Regions from separate parts of the Homo sapiens genome. Here region 1 is linked to region 2. The links are contacts of gene promoters, found by promoter capture Hi-C in blood cells and fetal thymus (Javierre and others, 2016). All regions are on one chromosome and are shown on one strand. The core of a region is centred on a gene start or on the middle of the fragment in contact, and the rest is flanking DNA. Distances in the headings are between cores, read along the strand shown. Region 1 has its middle 9.0 kb from the start of SPATS2. Region 2 holds the start of RHEBL1 (RHEB like 1).

Region 1 (4,893 bases), core at 62-2,561, 290 kb after region 2:
CATGGTGGCACACGCCTGTAGTCCCAACTACTCTGGAGGCTGAGTGGGGAGAATCGCTTGAACCCAGGGGGGCGGAGGTTACAGTGAGCCGAGATGGCGCCTCTGCACTCCAGCCTGGGCAACAGAGTGAGACTCCGTCTCAAAAAATAAAAAGAAAAAAAAAAGAAAAAAGAAAATGTGGCTGCCCAGAAGGTCAATCATGAGTGAGTTGTGATTGCGCCCCTGTACTCCAGCCTGGGCAACAGAGTGAGACACAGTCTGAAATAAATAAATAAATAAACAAAATAAAAACAAATAAGTAAATGAAATTAAAACAAAACCCAAAATACGGTCTTAAAAAAAGGACATTTAGTAAAATAATAGGAAATCTAAGACATTAACAAGTGAGTCTTCTTTATTTTCTACCTTAGTTGATTTAATGAAATCCAGTGATTTCATATTCTCCCATTTGCACAAAACAAAAATTCATAGATACTTTGAAGAGTTGGAAGGGAACTGAGAAGGCCTGTATCCCAAGCAACTATACAGTACAGAATCTTGGGAAAAGCTTGCCTTAGAGATGACCATTTCGGGTTTTGCTTGAATTGGAAATCTTCTACCTGTCTCACCTTTTAGACATCCTTAATTGTTCCCTAAATTGTTCCTAAATTTGCTTCCTTGTAATGTCTTTCTGGACCTGCCATCTCTTGCTACAAAGAACATAAAAAACCAAAAACCATTTCTTGATGAGATTCTGCCCTTCATCTCCTATCTCTCTAAGTCTTTCATTTGCCACATTTACCATCACTTTGTTTAAGGAGGAGGCACTGTAGTCCGAGTGAGGAGGGATGAAGAGGTGAAGAGATGGGTCTCTACTTCTACCTCTTGCATTGACCATACTGGTGACTTTGGGTGAGCCACCTTTCCATTAGGGCCTCTGTTTCTTTCTTGTCAGGTGAGGGAGATGGACTTAGATGACTTAGATGATTTTTTTTTTTTTGAGACGAAATCTACTTTGTTGCACAGGCTGGTGTGCAGTGGCACGGTCATAGCTCACTGCAGCCTTTACCTCCTGGGCTCAAGCAATCCTCTCACCTTGGCCTCCCAAAGTGTTGGGATTACAGGCATGAGCTACTGACCCCAGCCTAGATGACCTTTAAGCTTGCTTTCAACCTGCATTCTGGAGTTATTAGCTTTTCAGCTGAGGTTTTTATTAAATGGTTTTATTTGTCATCTTCTGTCTGCCCCCTTGTGGACATTGTTTTGGGAAGAAAATAAAATATTTAATTGCTCGAAGAACAATATAATGACCATCTCACCCTCCAAAAATTCACTTGCATCACACTGTTTGTTTTCAGTTATTCATGTTCACTTCTAGTCGTCGTTCATAAATGTACATCATTTTACATGGTTGAATCATATCAGGGACATAATTTTGTACTTTCCCCCCTCCCTGATAAAGATGATGTTTTTACAGTAAAATAAAAAAATGCTTGTGATTCAATAAGCTTTTAAAATATTACTATAAAGACTTTGTTATTATATATATTTAATTGAGATATAATTCATATAGCATAAACTTCACCCTTTAAAAGTGTACAATTCAGTGGTTTCTGATAGATTCACAAAGTTGTATAATTATCACCTCTATTTAATTCCAGAATGTTTTACCACCCCAAAAAGAAACTCCATACTCATCAGCAATCACTCTCTGTTTCCTCCTCTTCCTAGCCTCTGCAATCACTGATCTGCTTTCTGTCTCTAGATTTGCCTATCCTGGACATTTTATTTAAATGGCATCACACAATATGTTGTCCTTTGTGTGTGTCTGGCTTCTTTCATTGAACATAATGTTTCCAAGATTCAAATATGGGCTGGGTGTGGTGGCTCACGCCTGTAATCCCAGCACTTTGGGTGGCTGAGGTGGGCGGATCACGAGGTCAGGAGTTTGAGAGCAGCCTGACCAACATGGTGAAACCCTGTCTCTACTAAAAATACAAAAATTAGCTGGGTGTGGTGGCATGCATCTGTAGTCCCAGCTACTCAGGAGGCTGAGGCAGGAGTATCGTCTGAACCTGGGAGGCGGAGGAGGTTGCAGTGAGCTGAGATTGTGCCACCGCACTCCAGCCTGGGTGACAGAACGAGACTCTCAAAAAAAAAAAAAAGAAAAGAAAAGAAAAAATGATTCAAATATGTTGAAGCATGCATTATCATTACATTTTATTTTTTAATAACACACCATTATATCTTAAAGCTGTATAATATTCCCTTTTTGATAAACATTTATATAATGTTGTTGTAAATAATGTGGCATCGATATCTTCATGGCTCTAATTCATCTCTTCTCTTGAATTATTTCCTTAGAATAAATTCCCATGGGTGGGATTACTGGGTCAAAGGGTATGAACATTTTTTATAGCTCTTGTCAATATTGCTCTTAAATTGTGGTGCCCAGAACTAAATGCAATTCTGAGACGTGTTCAGACAGAACGGGGTACTGTGGGGCTGTTACGTTCTCAAGGTCTGAACAATATATCATCCTTTAAATCCAGCAGCCTAAAAATTTACTAGCTTTTTTTGGTTGCTATGTAAGTGTGACTCATTGAGTTTATAGTCAACTGAGGCCCTTAGATCTTTTCCTAGGCACTGTGTCTTAGAGCTATGTTTGCATCTACTCTAGGACCCAGGAGGCTTTTGAGGACTCACTGACTTTAGTACTCTATGTCTTAGTTTTCTTTTCTCTTGAACAGTGGGGTGGTCCTAACAAGCCTGGAGACGTGTGGTTTGTTGTAGTCTTAGCTAGGAACTGCAGATGGCGCTACAAGGCTGTCATGGTAAAATATGTCCCTCGGCTGTCCCCTTCACTTAAAAAAAAATGTGGTAGTGGCACCTCCATAGCAGGTTCATTACCAGAGTTCAGTCCTCTCCTTTTGCTGAGAAGGAGCAAGCAACTGTGAAGTTGGATTTGGGGTGTTATTCAAAGCAAGCTCCAACTGAAGCATGCTTTTCAGTTGTCATTTAATCTCCTAGGGGAATCTAGAGCTGTCTATTTCATGTTAGAACTTTGAACGCACATCTCATGCCAGTGCTTTGGCTTTTGAAGTTCCCACCCTGAGAAGGTGATTTAAAATGTTTTTCTTTTGCTTCATGTTCCCTGCAGTATTTCTGTTAGTCGCCTCAAGGGATTAAAAGTTGTTCAACTGTTTTGTTTTGTTTTGTTTTGTTTTTGCTAAGATGAGTTTTGAGCAATAAAAGTAAAAAATTTATGTAGGGTTCCAGCTAAAGATACTTCATTTCAATAATTTGTTCTCTCTTTTCTTTCTTATTCTTCTTTTTCCCCACCTCTCATTCACCCTTTCCATAGTCCATCTGGTTATTTGCAAACTATTATGACTCTAAGCAAGGATCTTGGACTTTCTGGGTTTAAACGTTACTGACAAGTTTCAACAGAACAAAGCAGTAAAACAGTGCCCTGTATGGGAAACTTGGAAGGGAATCTTTTTTTTTTTTTTTTGAGACGGAGTTTCGCTCTTGTTGCCCAGGCTGGAGTGCAATGGCACCATGTCAGCTCACCACAATCTCCACCTCCCGGGTTCAAGCGATTCTCCTGCCTCAGCCTCCTGAGTAGCTGGGATTACAGGCATGTACCACCACACCCAGCTAATTTTGTATTTTTAGTAGAGACGGGGGTTTCTCCATTTTGGTCAGGCTGGTCTCGAACTCCCAACCTCAGGTGATCTGCTCGCCTTGCCCTCCCAAAGTGTTGGGATTACAGGCCACCACTCCCAGCCCAGAAGGGAATCTTTTAACCCATTCTGTGCCAGACCTCAGTCCCAATTCTGGGTTGAGAAATGTTGTGGGGAACATCTGCTGGGCAGTGACTGAGTCAGCATGTGAGCCTGGCTTTGCAAGCAACACCTAAAAGGGCATTTTTCCTAGAATCAATGGCTCAGGCACATTTCAGGTGAATTAGTACCAGAAAAGGAACGGGAGCTGGGTGTGATGATGGGCGGAGGCGGGGGGATCACTTGAGCCCGGGAGTTTGAGGCTACAGTGAGTTATGATTCTGCCACTGTACTCCAACCTAGGCAACAGAGCAAGCCCCTGCCTCAAATAAATAAATAAGAAATTTATTAATCTGTCTCAAGAGTGGGGAAAAAAAAGGCCAGGCATAGTGGCTGATGCCTATAATCCTAGCACTTTTGAGAGGCTAAGGCAGGAGGATCACTTGAACCCAGTGGGGAAGATTGCTTGAGTTTGAGACCGGCCTGGGCAACATGGGGAGACCCCATCTCTATAAAAAAAAAAAAATTAGCCAGGCCTGGTGGCTCACACCTGTAGTCCAAGCCACTGGGAAGGCTGCAATGGGAGGACCAGTTGAGCCTGGGAGCTGGAGGCTGCAGTGAGCAATGATCCCATCACTGCACTCCAACCTGGGCAACAGAGTGAGAACCCTGTCTCTTAAAAAAAAAAAAAGGAATGGGGCTTGGCGCCGGTGACTAACGCCTGTAATCCCAGCACTTTGGGAGGCCAAGGCAGGTGGATCACGAGGTCAAGAGATTGAGACCATCCTGGCCAACATGTGAAACCCCGTCTCTACTAAAACTTCAAAAAAATTAGCTGGGCATGGTGGCGCACCTGTAGTCCCAGCTACTTGGGAGGCTGAGGCAGGAGAATCGCTTGAACCCGGGAGGTGGAGGTTGCCGTGAGCTGAGATCGCGCCACTGCACTCCAGCCTGGGTGACAGTGCGAGACTCTGTCTCAAAAAAAAAAGAAAAGAATGGGAAGGGGTTGTGGGACATAAAACGTCTTTGGTTCAGGTGTTTCCCAGTCACAGATCTGAGGGCCACTGAGGCTTGTTTTACTCCCCCACCCCTCCTTCCATATCCTTACCCACTTTAGACGTGGTTTCTC
Region 2 (4,836 bases), core at 832-3,331:
GTATCTGGAATATTCATCACCTTAAATATTTGGCTTTTCTTTATGCTAGAACCATTTGAATTCTTCTCTTCTAGCTATTTTGAAATGTAAAATAGCTTATTGTAAGCTATAGTCACCCTACTGATCTACTAAGTCTTATTTCTTCTATCAAACTATATATTTGTACCCATTGATCAATTTATCTTCATCCCTCCCACTCCCTTCCCCCTTACATTCTTTTTATTCTTTTTTTTTTTTCTTTTTTTTCTTGAGACATTGCTTCACTCTTGTTGCCCAGGCTAGAGCGCAGTGGCACGATCTCGGCTCACTGCAACCTCCGCCTCCCAGGTTCAAGCAATTCTCCTGCCTCAGCCTCCCGAGTAGATGGGATTACAGATGTCCATCACCATGTCCGGCTAATTTTTTGTATTTTTAGTAGAGACGGGGTTTCACCATGTTGGCCAGGCTGGTCTCGAACTCTTGACCTCAGGTGATCCACCTGCCTTGGCCTCCCAAAGAACTGGGATTACAGGCATAAGCCACGGTGCCCAGCTTTTTTTTTTTTTTTTTTTTTTTTTTGAGACAGTCTCACCCTGACACCCAGGCTGGTGTGCAGTGGCACGACCTTGGCTCACTGCCACTTTTGCCTCCTGGGTTCAAGCGATTCTCCTACCTCAGTCTCCTTTGTAGCTGGGATTACAGGCGTGCGCCACCATGCCCAGCTAATTTTGGTATTTTTAGTAGAGATGAGGTTTCACCATGTTGGCCAGGTTGGTCTCGAAATCCAGACCTCAATCCATCCGCCCGCCTCAGCTTCCCAAAGTGCTGGGATTACAGGCATGAGCCACTGCGCCCAGCCTCCCCTTACATTCTTAACCTTGGGGGTGACACAGATAGATCAGCTCCAGGGAGTTATCCAGGTAACTGGAAAGACACGCTAAGGTTCTTAATGTCTACATCTAAACTATCCCAGACTCAATATCTTGCAAAATCCATACTCTAGCCATCCATCGAACAGGATTGCTAAAGAAGAAATCAGATGTAATGTCTAAATAAATCAGCCCCTTGGCACCAGAGAAATAAATTATGGAGTTGGGTGGGGTATCCAAGCCCTCCGGGTCGCATACCACCAGCACACTAGGGGAGAAGTCTACTCACTATTCTCCACTGTAGGATCGTAGCCTTCCGAGAACTCGCCTTCCACAAATTGATGTGCCAAAGATGTCTTCCCTGTGGGGAGCAGTGTGACAGTTGTATCCAAATCATCCATCCACATTCACATCCTCTGTCCTTTCGGACTGTGGCCCAGGACCAAAGGAGACCCCAAATTAACACCACAGTCTGTGAGTGCCTCAAGCAATGCTATCCTTTGTGTCTACCCTCACCCTCTTTTCACCCAGGGTCTCCGCACTTTGGCTACCGGATGCATTCAGAAGCGCAGCAGGAAGCCTTTCCCGCCGCCTTCCCCACCCCATCCCACTCGTAGGAAGATCCAAGATTCCCTAGGATCAAGTCCGCCCCGCCCCAGGACACCTGCGACTATCTGTCCCCACGGAGACCGCGTCCCGGTTTTCAAATTGTGACCCCACCCCTATCCCCAAAGTAACGCTGGGACCACTCTGAGATTCCCGCAGCCAGGTCCGCATTAACCCTTAAGTGCTCCCGCTTCCTGCAGCCTCCACACACCACCAACTCTTCCAATCCTCCACTCTTCCATTCCTCCACTCTTCCAATCCTCGCTCTACAACCCCATCCTTACGATGTCATCATTCCTCCCTGGGTCGCGTTCCCACGGCAGCGCGCCTCTTCTGGCTACAAAGCTGCTGCGCGTCCGAGCTCTGCAGGGCGGAGACTCACCTACACAGCGGTATCCGAGGATGACCACCTTCCTGTAGCGGACTAGCGGCATGGCAGGAGCCCGCCCCAGGGGCTTGCGGAACTGCGGGCTCAGAGAGCCCGAAAACGAGGTCAGGGTGTGAGCAGGCGCGGCAGCTGGTGCAGGAAAGTCGCTCACCCCGAAGCTGCCGTGGGCAAGTTAGAAGGAAACCAAAACAAGCGCCGCGCCCGGAGCTGCCCACGTGATCACAACACAGCACGTCTAACGCCAGGGAGCCGGGCGCCCGGGGAACTACTGAGCCGCGCCGCGCCGGGCTCCGCCCCCCAGGCCGCTCGCCATTGGTCCATTAGAATGGGTAAGGGCGGTGCCGCCAGCAGGAGGGAAGGGTGGGCCTCACGTGGAGCGGGAGAACTGGGAGCTGCGCGTGCGCAGACTGGAGCCGGTTCATTCATAAAGAAACAGAAAGGAACCCGGGGTCCTAAAGGCGTTTGCGCATTTACAGCCTAGCTGAAGTGGCTTCGAAGAATTATGGATGGAAAATACCCGTTTTGTGGTTTCCGGTCATAAGATTCTAGCCCTCCCTTTTGCATGGTCTCTGGGGTCCTTAGATAGGGAGAAAACCGCCAAAGTTCTAGTATATTCCTTCTGCTTCCCCCAGCCTTCAGCCCCAGACCTATCAAGGTTTCCAGTCTTCCAGCATCTAATTTCAAACTGCAATTCTTATTCTTGCAGAAATTGCTAGAATTTATGATCAAGTAGTCTGAGGTTTCTTCTTCATCATCATGATCCTCAAATATTCATTTTTCAACAAATACTGAGTATATACTACATGTTTCAGGCATTGCTCCAGCTTTGGGGTCAGAACATGGACATCACAGACAATGTGTCTGCTCTTATGAAGGGAGAAACAAACATACAACAAGGAAATATCAGAGAGTGTTAAGTGCTGTAGAAGATGGTGTGATGAAAGATGACCACTTTATTTTTTTTATTTTTTTATTTTTATTTTTATTTTTTTTGAGACGGAATCTCGCTCTTTCTACCAGGCCGGAGGGCAGTGGCTCTATCTCGGCTCACTGCAAGCTCCGCCTCCCGGGTTCACGCCATTTTCCTGCCTCAGCCTCCAGAGTAGCTGGGACTACAGGCGCCCGCCACCGCGCCCGGCTAATTTTTTGTATTTTTAGTAGAGACGGGGTTTCACCGTGTTAGCCAGCATGGCCTCCATCTCCTGACCTCGTGATCCGCCCGCCTCGGCCTCCCAAAGTGATGGGATTACAGGCGTGAGCCACCGCGCCCGGCCGACCACTTTATTTTTTAAAGACAATACAGCATTTTTAATTTTTTTTCTTTATTTATTTTGAGACAGGGTTATGAGACTGGCTAATTTTTGTATTTTGGGGAGAGATGGGGTTTTGCTATGTTGCCCAGGCTGGTCTCGAACGCCTAGCCTCAAGTGATCCACCTGACCCGGCCTCCCAAAGTGCTGGGATTACAGACGTGAGCCACCGAGCCTGGCTGAGATGACCACTTTAGTGATACTTTCTCTCATAGGAAACCCCATTTAAACTAAGATCTGAAGGAACCAACTAGGAGATTTCACAAGAAGAATCCACCAATGCTAAGGCGTTAAGATGGAAATAAATTGGGTAAATTCCAGGAAGAGGGGAAGAAAAAAAGAAAGCCAGTTAGCCTAAAGCAGATGAAGTCTAAGAGAATGGCAGAGGCCAGGCCACATAAAGGAGTCTGGGCTAATTCTAAGTACTTGAAGGTATTTAAGCTGGGGCATGACATGATCTAAATTGTCTTTCTAAAAAATCTCCCTGGCTGTAGTGAATAGATTGGGGTTTGAGGGTAACAGGAGCAAAAGGAAGCAGGGAGATTGGCGAGGAAACTGTTACCTGTAGTCCAGGTGAGAGATGAGAGCGCTTGACTAGAGTGATCATGTTGAATGAAGTTGAGAATTCAGGATATTCTGAAGCTAAGGTTAAAATGACTTGTGGAAGGATTGGTAGAGGAGGGAAGAAAGGAAGGAAATCACCTAGATTTATAGAGAGTTCGACTATACTATGTGCCAGGTGCATTTTATTGTTATCTCATTTAATATTCACAAAAGCCCTAGGCCGGGCATGGTGGCTCATGCCTGTAATCCCAGCACTTTGGGAGGCTGAGGTGGACGGATCGCTTGAGGTCGGGAGTTCGAGACCAGCCTGTCCAACATAGTGAAACCCCGTCTCTACTAAAAATACAAAAATTAGCCGTGCGTGATGGTGCATGCCTGTAATTCCAGCTACTCAGGAGGCTGAGGCAGGAGAATCGTTTGAACACGGGAGGCAGAGGTTGCAGTGAGCCGGGATTGCACCATTGTACTCTGCACTCCAGCCTGGGAGACAGAGTGAGACTCCATCTTAAAAAAATATATATATATATATATATATATATTCATCTTCTACTTTGTGCCAGGCACTCTTACTATGTGTTGCACACTAGGATACAGAAATAAATAACAGATGCCTTTTATACTGCTTGTCCCGTCCATATGAACTCTCCATTCTTTTCCACCCAGATTTATGTCCAGGAGGCAGACCTTGTCTCCTGGCTTTCAGTGAAGCTCAGCCAAAGGAAAGCACACACAGAAGATTCAATGGACAGAGGAGAGTGGCTCTGTCCCCCATTGAAGGTCACAGTACCTCTCAAGGCAGCTGCCTCCTCCAACACACACACACACAGCTCTCTCCTGGTTTTCAGTGACTCCCCTCAGCCTTTATGCCTATAGCAGTATCAGCCTCTTTTCTGTTATTCACCTTGGGGCATTGCTCTATCTGTTGTGGTCTCCCTATACCCTGCCCACATCTTTGTAAATAGTCTCTTTATTAAACCATCTGAATTCTCCTGTTTTGAATCAGAGAGAAAGCAAAAGAGCCAAGGCAAAGGGCTTTCTCCTCTTGTGACTTTTTCTTTTTACCTGGTAAGGGAAGCTCTCACAGCAGATATTCACCTACATCTCATTGAACAAGATTGTT

What was found. The method cuts DNA at HindIII sites, captures the fragments that hold promoters and counts their contacts. A CHiCAGO score of 5 or more calls a contact.
Region 1: a fragment that was not itself captured here is called in contact with the fragment with the promoter of RHEBL1 in region 2 in 1 of 17 cell types (M2 macrophages); the score reaches 5.3 in M2 macrophages.

Annotation. Positions count from the first base shown.
Region 1 is chr12:49,356,046-49,360,938 of GRCh38, forward strand. No RefSeq gene overlaps it. Among named protein-coding and RNA genes, the nearest start is that of SPATS2, 9.0 kb to the right of the region's middle. The HindIII fragment of the contact is 347 bases long and covers 1,139-1,485 here.
Region 2 is chr12:49,067,898-49,072,733 of GRCh38, forward strand. It overlaps RHEBL1 (RHEB like 1), which reads right to left and starts at 2,082. Exons shown (of 8, transcript NM_144593.3): 1 at 1,837-2,082; 2 at 1,138-1,209. The coding sequence starts at 1,888. RefSeq lists enhancers at 1,796-2,105, 2,476-2,525 and a silencer at 2,126-2,245. The HindIII fragment of the contact is 17,864 bases long and covers 1-4,836 here.